Linked DNA regions of Homo sapiens: region 2 is linked to region 1. Evidence: promoter capture Hi-C in 16 types of primary human blood cells and fetal thymus (Javierre and others, 2016). All regions are on one chromosome and are shown on one strand. The core of a region is centred on a gene start or on the middle of the fragment in contact, and the rest is flanking DNA. Distances in the headings are between cores, read along the strand shown. Region 1 holds the start of CDKN2A-AS1 (CDKN2A antisense RNA 1). Region 2 overlaps DMRTA1 (DMRT like family A1).

What was found. Contacts are between HindIII fragments. The CHiCAGO score rates a contact against its expected background, and 5 or more counts as called.
Region 2: a fragment that was not itself captured here is called in contact with the fragment with the promoter of CDKN2A-AS1 in region 1 in 3 of 17 cell types (M0 macrophages, naive B cells and total B cells); the score reaches 5.6 in M0 macrophages.

Annotation. Positions count from the first base shown.
Region 1 is chr9:21,963,222-21,968,388 of GRCh38, forward strand. It overlaps CDKN2A-AS1 (CDKN2A antisense RNA 1), which reads left to right and starts at 3,918. Exons shown (of 1, transcript NR_024274.1): 1 at 3,918-4,533. CDKN2A (cyclin dependent kinase inhibitor 2A) reads right to left here. Exons shown (of 3, transcript NM_000077.5): 3 at 4,531-5,021. The coding sequence ends at 5,008. The HindIII fragment of the contact is 10,554 bases long and covers 1-5,167 here.
Region 2 is chr9:22,449,919-22,455,085 of GRCh38, forward strand. It overlaps DMRTA1 (DMRT like family A1), which reads left to right. Exons shown (of 2, transcript NM_022160.3): 2 at 1,146-5,167. The coding sequence ends at 1,993. Among named protein-coding and RNA genes, the nearest start is that of DMRTA1, 5.7 kb to the left of the region's middle. The HindIII fragment of the contact is 7,087 bases long and covers 1-5,167 here.

The sequences.
Region 1 (5,167 bases), core at 2,668-5,167:
TAGAAGGGTTTTTCCAATGTTATCGTCTAGAATTTTTATAGTTTCAGGTCTTAGGTTTAAGTCCTTAATCCATCTTGAGTTGATTTTTGTATAAGGTGAGAGATGAGGATCCAGTTTCATTCTCCTATTATGTGGCTAGCCAATTATCCCAGCAACATTTGTTTAAAAGGGTGTCCTTTCCCCGTTTTATATTTTTGTTCGCTGTGTCAAAGATCAGTTGGCTGTAAGTATTTGGGTTTATTTCTGAGTTCTCTGTTCTGTTCCATCAGTCTATGTGCCTATTTTTATACTAGTACATGCTGTTTTGGTGACTGTGCCTTTATAGTATAGTTTGAAAGCAGGTAGCATGATGCCTCCACATTTGTTCTTTTTGCTTAGTCTTACTTTGGCTGTGCAGGCTCTTTTTTGGTTTCATATGAATTTTAGAATTGTTTTTTCTAATTCTGTGAAGAATGATGGTGGTATTTTGATGGGGATTGCATTGAATTTGTAGATTTTTTTGGCGGTATGGTCATTTTCACAATATTGATTCTGCTCATCCATGAGCATGGGATATGTTTCCATTTGTATGTTGTCTATTATTTGTTTCAGCAGTGTTTTGTAGTTTTTCTTGTAGAGGTCTTTTGACTCCCTGGTAAGGCATATTCCTAAGTATTTGATTTGATTTGATTTTTTTTTTTTTTTTTTTGCCGCTACTGTAAAAGGGGTTAAGTTCTTGATTTGATTTTCTGCTTGGTCGCTGTTTGTGTATAGAAGAGCTACTGATTTGTATACACTAATCTTGTATCCAGAAACTTTGCTGAATTCTTTTATCAATTCTAGTAGCTTTCTGGAGGAGTCCTTAGGGTTTTCAAGGTAAACGATCATATCATCAGCAAACAGTGACAGTTTGACTTCCTTTTTACTGATTTGGATACCCTTTTTATTTTTCTCTCTCATCTGATTGCTCTGGCTAGAACTTCCAGTACTATGTTGAAGAGGAGTGGTGAGAGTGGGCATCCTTGTTCCAGTTTTCAGAGGAAATGCTTTCAACTTTTCCCATTCAGTATTATGTTGGCTGTGGGTTTTCATAGATGGCTTTTATTACATTAAGGTATGTCCCTTGTATGCCAATTTTGCTGAGAGTTTTAATCATAACAGGATGCTGAATTTTGTCAAATGCTTTTTCTGCATCTATTGAGATGATCATGTGATGTTTTGTTTTTAATTCTGTTTTCGTGGTGTATCACATATGTTAAATCATCCCTACATTCCTGGTATGAAACCCACTTGATCATGTCATGGTGGATTATTTTTTGATATGTTGTTGGATTCTGTTAGCTAGTATTTTGTTAAGGATTTTAGCATCAATGCCCAACAAGGATATCAATCTGTAGTTTTTAAATGTGCTTTTCTGGACCGGCACGGTGGCTAAGGCCTGTAATCCCAACACTTTGGGAGGTCGAGGAGGGCGGACCACTTGAGGTCAGGAGTTCGAGATCAGCCTGGCCAAAATGGTGAAAATCCGTCTCTACTAAAAAGGTGTTGTGGCGGGCGCCTGTAATCTCAGCTACTGAGGAGGCTGAGGCAGGAGAATCGCTTGCACCCGGGAGGCGGAGGTTGCAGTGAGCCGAGATCGCACCACTGCACTCCAGCCTGGGCGACAGAGAAAGACTCCGTCTCAAAAAAAAAAAAAAAAAAAAAAAAGTTGTTTTCTGCTATTTCCTGAACTTTATTACGTAAATGAGACACGTGAGATCTGGAAGGAGGTGGAGGTGAAGACCCTCCCACCTGGCCTGCATCCAGAGTACTTGGGGTGTGGCACTGGCGTGGGCCCCAGGAAGGATCCCAGCCAGTTTTGGTGCTGGAGGCCCGGCCAAAGGAAGGGCTGCTCTCCCGTCCCGCGGGCTCCGAGGTCGCCGCACCCGGGCGCGCCTGGGCCTCGTCACCCGCGCTCGTGACGCGTGCTTACAAAGGAAACTTTTACAGGTTTCGGTGGGCAGGGCCTTTTATTGCCCTTCTGCTCCACAGCCCCCGTGCTTAATCGGTTGGTTGGGAGGTTTCTTTCGTCCGTGGTTTTGGAAAGTCCCCGCCTCCAAACCGCAGTCCCGCAGTCAGTTCTGCAGCCTCAGGGCCTCGAACAGCCATGCTTAGAATCCGTCCTTCTTTCCTGCTCCATCTACCCTTCCCCTCTGGCTTCTTTTTTTTCACTGGAGAAAGCCCACCCGAGTCTCTCAGCCTGCTTCGGAGGTTACTGCGGCCTCCTCCACGGGTAGTTCTGGGACCCGGGTCTAGTCCGCGGTTCCGGAGCAGGTCCCTCCCTGGAGTCGTCAGGCCCAGTATGCGTGTGCTCAGTGTGCTCGGGAAACACGCGTGGGCTTTAACAGCAGATCTCCATAAAAGGGTCCCGGAGATAGCCTCTGCCTGGCCCGAGGCCCAGTGCCTCAAAGCGGACGCCTTTGCGCTCCCGGAGGTGCTCACACCACAGCGGAGCCTGCTGGCGAGTGGAGCGTAGGACTGCGAACCAGCAATCTCCCGAGAAGCGGCGAGGGGGAGGGGAATGTCTGTGAATCGGTTATCCCTCCCACCCCCAGCAGAAGTCGGGGAAATGGGGGTGGAAGGGGGAAAAAGGGAGAGAACAGGAGTGGGGTTGAGGAAGGGTAAGGAGGAAGGTGAGCTTCCTACAGCTGCGGGGGAAGGTGGAGAAAATTTTCAGGGGGACAGCTGAGTGGTAGAGCTAGCGAGCTTCAGAGAAATGTTGACAGACAGATGCCCAGAAAGTGAGGATGCCGGGCATGGGCACTGCGTACCAGGCACAGGAGATATATGGAGGCAGGAAATTGGCACATCATAAGCATTTGACCATCCTGCCCTAAAACAAAACAAATTGAACAACAACAACAACAAAAGATAATAGCAAAAGTGGCACAGTAGTGAGCTCGCAGGGCCCATTCCTATATAGAAACACAGAAAAATAAGCAAAAGCTGCCAGAATTGACTTCGTGGGAACTCTGGGAAACAGTAAGAAAGTTTTACAGCAACCAAGTGAGTGCTGAACCAAGGCAAAGGTAACTGAAACGCAATGATAGAGAAGAGGGGCAGGGAAGTGTTGGGTAGACAAAGGCGGGTCCCTGGTAAGGGCCCTCCCCTGGGCCTGTGCCCACTGGACCTAGGTGAGGACAGGCACTCCTTCCTTCACGCCCAAATGTTGCATATCCCAAGACCACCCTGTCCCGCCACGCCCCCATCCTTTGCCTATGAAAACCCTGAGACCCTAGCAGGCAGACACACAAGCGGCTCTATGTCCAGAGGAACTCATCGGAGGAACTGGACGTGGAGCGGGGCACCCCAGCGGAAGGGAGCACGCCAGTGGAAGAGCACACTGACAGACCATAGGAGTCAGTCTGTTATATTATCATAGTATAATATTATAAAATTATTATAATACAATAAAAATATAAAAATATAAATAATGTAATAAATATGGATAAAAATAATAATTACATATTTATATTTATATGAGAACACTATGAATAATTTTAAGCCAAAAAACAACTCGATGTTCATCACTGGATGAGTAGACGAGCAATTTCCAGTATATTCATACAATGGAATATGATTCAGCCATAAAATGAAATGAGGTACTGATACATGCTGCAGCAGGAATGAACCCCCAAAACACTACACTTGGTGAAAGAAGCCAGACACGGAAGGTCACATATTGTATGATCCCATTTATAAGAAATATTCAGAATAGGTAAATCCATAGAGACAAAAGGAGTTTTGTAGTTGCCAGGAGTTGGAGGCAAGAAGAGTTTAACAGGTATGCTTAATGGGGCCTCCTATGCAGTTGACGAAAATGTTTTGGGCTAGATAGGAGTGATGGTTGCATAACATTGTACTAAATGCCACTGAATTCTACTCTTTAAAATTTTTAGTTTTATGTTATGTGGCGTGTACCCTAAAAAAAAAAATAGAGGTGCAGTGCTCCAGCACGGGATGAGGCAGCGTGGACAGGAGCATCTCCCAACCTCAGTGAAGTCTGAGCCGCGTGCCTGCAACAATCCCACTGTGGCAGAGAACCGCAGAGTTCCTTCCGGTTTGGCAGCAGTCATTCGCAACCTCACAGCCCTCTGGAACCCCAGCCTGGGGGTCTCAGAACGCCGAGGCGGGGACTGGGAGCCGAGTCGGATTCCGAGACTATGGGCCAGGGTTGGCTGGATTCAGTTACCTGGCTGAGGCCTGGTGAGCAAAATATCCCAAACCTCGCGTGATCTGGAAGGGGAAGCCGGATAAATACGGATCTCCAGATGTGCCAGTCTCGAGTCTATCGATATGAGGTCCCCCTAGAGTTTCTATTCATCATTTTAACCGCATTTCATCGATCTTGAGACACGGCTTTTGATATTTTATCACCTCAAGATAAATAGTGTTAGATGTCTAATAGCAGCGTTTTTCTAAGAGATACATGAAACAACAGTGTCAGAAACGATGCTGTCTTCCATGCGATGAAATTGTTGTAATAGGTGCTCAATAAATGTTGACAATAAATGAGTGAATGAATGAAAATTATTTTATTTTTATTTGAGCTTTGGTTCTGCCATTTGCTAGCAGTGTGACTCAAGAGAAGCCAGTAACCCCCCTGAGCTTCCCTAGTTCACAAAATGCTTGTCATGAAGTCGACAGCTTCCGGAGGCTGCGAGGCTCGCAAGAAATGCCCACATGAATGTGCGCTTAGGGCGTGAGTGCTCACTCCAGAAAACTCCAACACAGTGAAAAGGCAGAAGCGGTGTTTTTCTTTTTTACATTTTTATAAGAATATATAAAAAATGATATAAATGGACATTTACGGTAGTGGGGGAAGGCATATATCTACGTTAAAAGGCAGGACATTTTTAAAAGCTCTATTTTCTAAATGAAAACTACGAAAGCGGGGTGGGTTGTGGCGGGGGCAGTTGTGGCCCTGTAGGACCTTCGGTGACTGATGATCTAAGTTTCCCGAGGTTTCTCAGAGCCTCTCTGGTTCTTTCAATCGGGGATGTCTGCAGAGGGCAGAAAGAAAACAGGCGTTAGAAACCTGAGGTCAAAGATGTGTGGCACATCCCGCCCTCCTCTCTTGCCGTCCCTACCGGCATTGAAATACTTATGGATAAAGTTCTCGCAATGGCTTCACGTGCATGTACCCGCC
Region 2 (5,167 bases), core at 704-3,203, 480 kb after region 1:
ATATTTGTTTTGTGACATTCATAAACTTGGTAGAAAAAGGAAGTTGGACAGAATTACTCTGCACACTCCACTTAACAGTTTACTCTTACCTATATATCTCTAGGGTAATAGAAAATGTAAACCAAAGTAAAAGTTACATAGTAAATATGGCTATTTTAATTTTTGTGGTGTTAACCTAGTAAAGGGTATTAACATATTCTTGTTTGATTAATATGCTCAACATGTTGAGATAGAAAAACCAGAACTTTGTGTAAAAGTACTTTTGGAAAATTGCCCCTAACATTGGAGGAGGGCTGTGATTTAAAGCAAATGCCTAATATGTTGTTTTTAAAAGACAATTTGAGGATTTGTGTAGATTGCAATAGGACAGTTTATAATTTTCTTTTACAAACAATTTGCTTTTAAAGTCTGTTATTGATATTTCTTAAGGATTGAAAAAGAAAGTACATTTCATAGAGGATTATGAAAAATACCGTCTGTGTCATCTCTCATAAAATGAAATATGCAAGCTCTAGTATGATTTGGGATTGACATAGCAATAGTACTTATTGGTTTAAATCTGAAATGAAATGAACAGTTTTTTTTTACATTATTCAAGTAAATTAATTATAACCTGAAATATGAGATAAAAAACCAATTGTTAAAATTTAGCATTAGTGATTAAATAGAATATTCATTTTCAAACTAAGATTATTCCTTTTATTCCTTATTCATTTTATTCAGTTCTCTTTCCATAGTGTCATTCTGAAAAAATATCACTTAGATAACAACAAAACTTAGGTGACATTTAGGAAGATCCCACACAACCAAGATAGAACAGACAGTGTGCCATATTGGTGTTATGCAGACAATTTGGGGTAACAATACACTCTCATCTTCTGATTCCTAAATATAATTGCATTTTAATATTGCATACCTTTGTGATTCTGAGATGATATAATAGTATACTTTTCACTATTCCAGCACCTGCATTTCTGAATAATCTTTTAAATTTGAGTTATTCATTAAAATGTCTTGGAGTGTATAAATATTACTAATTAATAGGAGTGAATTAATTATATTATCCAGCATTATTTTTGAGTGAGCAGTACCACATTCTGGGAAGTCTTCCCTGTATTTGATTTTTTTTTCCCCCTCTTCTCCAGAACAAAAAGAGAGTAAATGTGAGTCATGCCAGAATGGACAAGAAGAACTGATCTCCAAATCCCATCAGCTTTACCTAGGATCATCTTCTAGGTCTAATGGTGTCATTGGGAAACAAAGTATCGGGTCATCTATTTCAGAATACTCCAACAAGCCTGATAGTATCCTGTCTCCTCATCCTGGAGAGCAATCAGGAGGTGAAGAGAGTCCCAGGTCCTTATCATCCTCTGATCTGGAATCAGGAAATGAAAGTGAATGGGTCAAAGACTTGACTGCGACCAAGGCAAGCCTTCCGACAGTGTCCTCAAGACCAAGAGATCCTCTTGATATCCTTACTAAGATTTTCCCAAATTACAGGCGCAGCCGGCTAGAAGGCATTCTACGGTTCTGCAAAGGGGATGTGGTCCAAGCCATTGAACAGGTTTTAAATGGCAAAGAACACAAGCCAGACAACAGGAACCTAGCAAACTCAGAAGAACTGGAAAACACAGCCTTTCAGAGAGCTTCAAGTTTTAGTCTTGCTGGAATTGGTTTTGGAACTCTAGGTAATAAATCAGCTTTCTCTCCTCTTCAAACTACTTCTGCTTCTTATGGAGGTGATTCAAGTCTCTACGGCGTAAATCCTAGAGTAGGTATCAGTCCATTAAGGCTGGCATATTCTTCTGCAGGAAGAGGGTTATCTGGTTTTATGTCACCCTACCTAACACCTGGGTTAGTACCAACCTTACCTTTTCGGCCAGCTTTGGATTATGCCTTTTCAGGGATGATTAGAGATTCTTCCTACCTTTCCAGTAAAGACTCAATAACTTGTGGCAGACTGTACTTCAGACCAAATCAGGACAATCCGTAATGTATATGCCCATTCTCTCTTTCTGGAGTTTTTCCAGCATACAATACATGCACGTGCACACACATACACACACATCCATTAATATACTTCAGTAAGTATGTGAGTGGATTATGAGGTCTTAAAATGCTGGGTTTTTTTTTTTTCAAGCAATATAATAGGTCTTAGATCTGAAAACTCTTCATTAGGATTTATCAAGTGAAAGAAGTAAATCTGAACATTATATGTGCCTTGAATAAAGCTATTTCAGGAAATATTTAATGAATTTTCTCCCTAAATTATCATTTGTAAACATTTTTATTTTAAAACTAGTTTTTATTTTATTGAAAAGTGGAATTTTTAGTGATAAAATACATTTGTAAGTGTAAAGCAATACAGCATAATAGAATAGAATATAAACCGAAAGGAAGAACTGAACAATTAAGGCAATTCTAAATAATTACCATTTCAAAACTGTTTCTTCTATTCCTGGTTCATAGGAAAGAAAAAAGTTATTCAAAGTATTTTTAAAGCATTTGATTTGCAGATGGGTGATTCGTAATAAATAAAACATTTGAGCATTTTGAATTTATATTTCCTGAGTATTTTATTTTTCAATCTTAGCTTCCATGAGTGAAAACAAGTGCCATTAAAAAACATTTCTCTTTAAAGTTGACACTGTGTCTATGAAGTAAATTTTAGGAAATAAGACTGCGCCATCTCCTGGCCACTATCGCCAATTGCAACTGAGCTCTGTAGAGTATATGAATTAGAAACATTGATTCCGGAGAATAACCATTTTTTTTTCAAATAGTCATTTTGGATTATACTACATTAAAATTTCCATACTGTAAAGTGCACATCTACTGTGGATGAGAGTTGCAGTCTTTAAGTGTGCTTATGTCTGTATCTGGGGAAATATCCTTAAAAGTTTGGGACAAGAATATATGGCAGCCATTCTCAAAGGTAAGAATAATTTTATTCAGAAAACTAAAATAGCTGCTCAAATAAATATTTATTAACTGCAGATAGTTGATGCTTAATGCACTGAGGAGAGATATAAGATTTCCAAAGGGGAAAAACTGCCATGAAGTTTCAGAGGTATTCTTGCAATTTTAAAAATAATTTTTGTCCTCCCTCTGGCGCATTTGAAAACTATTTATTTCAGTCAGTGGAAAGTCCCTGAGGAAACTGCTTACAAAACAGTTTCTAGGACATTTTCTTTGTATGTCATCATTTTTCTTTTTTGAAGGACAGTAGCTTCATTGTTATTATTAGGAATAAATGGAAGCCCACTGGTGGTAAAAGATAGTTGATGAATTAGAGATTGTTTAAACTATTTAAGCAGCATGACTCACTAAAGATTTTTTAAATTATATGTATATACGTATGTGTGTATGCATCTATATGCACATATATAAGTCTATGTAGACATACATTAAACCCCTATAGGTTATATTATCATGGAGGCGTTTTTCATGAAGCCAGTAAGAATGTATTTCCAAGGAATATTTTGCCAGCAAATGTGATATTAAATTACTTCAGAGTATCTGATGCTGATTTAGGATGTAAATGTGTTTATTAGGTTATGCATTAATTTTAATGGTGTGAATATAAGAAAGCAGATCTTGAAAAATTTCGATGTACTCAATATTCATTTATTATAAAAAAGTTTTATATTCTAAGCCTAAACCGTAGTACAATGTCTAGCAAGTAGTTGAAATTCAATTCATATATACTGAGTAAGAAACTCTTATATATAATAGATCTCTTTGAGACTCTGATAAAACTGAAGAACTCTACAAAATGGCGTACAGACACACAGTTTTGCATACAATTTCACTGGGTTCTTGAATCTCCTAAATGGTATTCAGGTTAGATTCCTTGGTGATTCTTCAGTTGTTTCTATTGCATTAATCCACTTATTGAATGCTATTTTTCTGAAAAGTGCTAGATCCTGTAGAGGATACTGAATGTAAAATATTGTGCTCTAAAGGAAGTTACATTATACAATAGAGATATGGTTTAAAAAAAAATCCTAGAGTTACTGCATTATGTATGTGGTTTTATAATGATGTGCTTGTATCTGAGAAACTGAATTGCTTTTGACCTTGGGAGAACATCCATTTTGGGCAGTATTCGAATTTATAAAATAGTTTTATAATCATAAAACTTAATTTATATAATGCCTTACACATTCCATACTCTTTATAATAATTTAAGGACTTAATCTTATCAAATAGGTCATTTGTCTAACAACTCAGTAGTATATGAGGAAATTGGGGCTCAGCAGTAGGGTTTTTTCTCCCTAAGGTTAGTAATATGAGTCATCTGCAGTGGAATTACTGTGCTCACTTCAGCAATTTCAGACTCCAATGTCTGAGGAAGGATTCATGTCTGTTTTTTTCATTCATGGCCTTGAACAGTGTCTGATATAGGTTCTCAACCTATACACTAGATTTCCACTGACTGAAAAAAAATAAAAGCAAGTATTAGCTTAATAATTTCTTCATTCAACACCTATTTAATATTTTTAATAATCTATTTGTGCCATGCACTGTGTTAGACACAAGAGATAAAGAAATGATTAAGATACAAGACTTTGCCTCAAGTTGCTCACGGTCTATATTGTGTGTACAAAAACAACCAATCAACCAATGTTGGTATTATTTGACAGTGTTGGTACATCAATGAGTTCTTTGTAATCTTGATATTTATATCCATGGATGCTGCTTGAAGCCTGAACTCCTAAGCCACTAATTAGTGGTGGGAAGAAAGAGGGGGTAAATGCTTTAAGAGCTAGCATATAACAAAAATGAATTGGGTTTATTCTGTATCATATAGAGGGCCTAAGAGGCAAACATTTCATAGAGTATTCAGAAGAACATAAGGAATGACTTTTTTCACAGTTAACAGCTGTCCAAGAGTGTAGTGGCTGCCTCGTATGATAAAGCATCTGGAACTCATTGAAAAATGCATGTAGAAAATACCAATCAGAGCCTGATTGATGGGATTTTTAATTACTGCTTTAATATTGGGACTGAATCATTTTGTAGCTCATTAGAAACATGGAAAGTATTTGTTAAATAAATAAGTCATGGAATTTCAATTCTAAGGCCATGAAAATTAAAACACCCTACCATTATTTATCAATAAAACACAGTGCAGTTTTGCTCATCAGAATTTTGCCTATGTGAT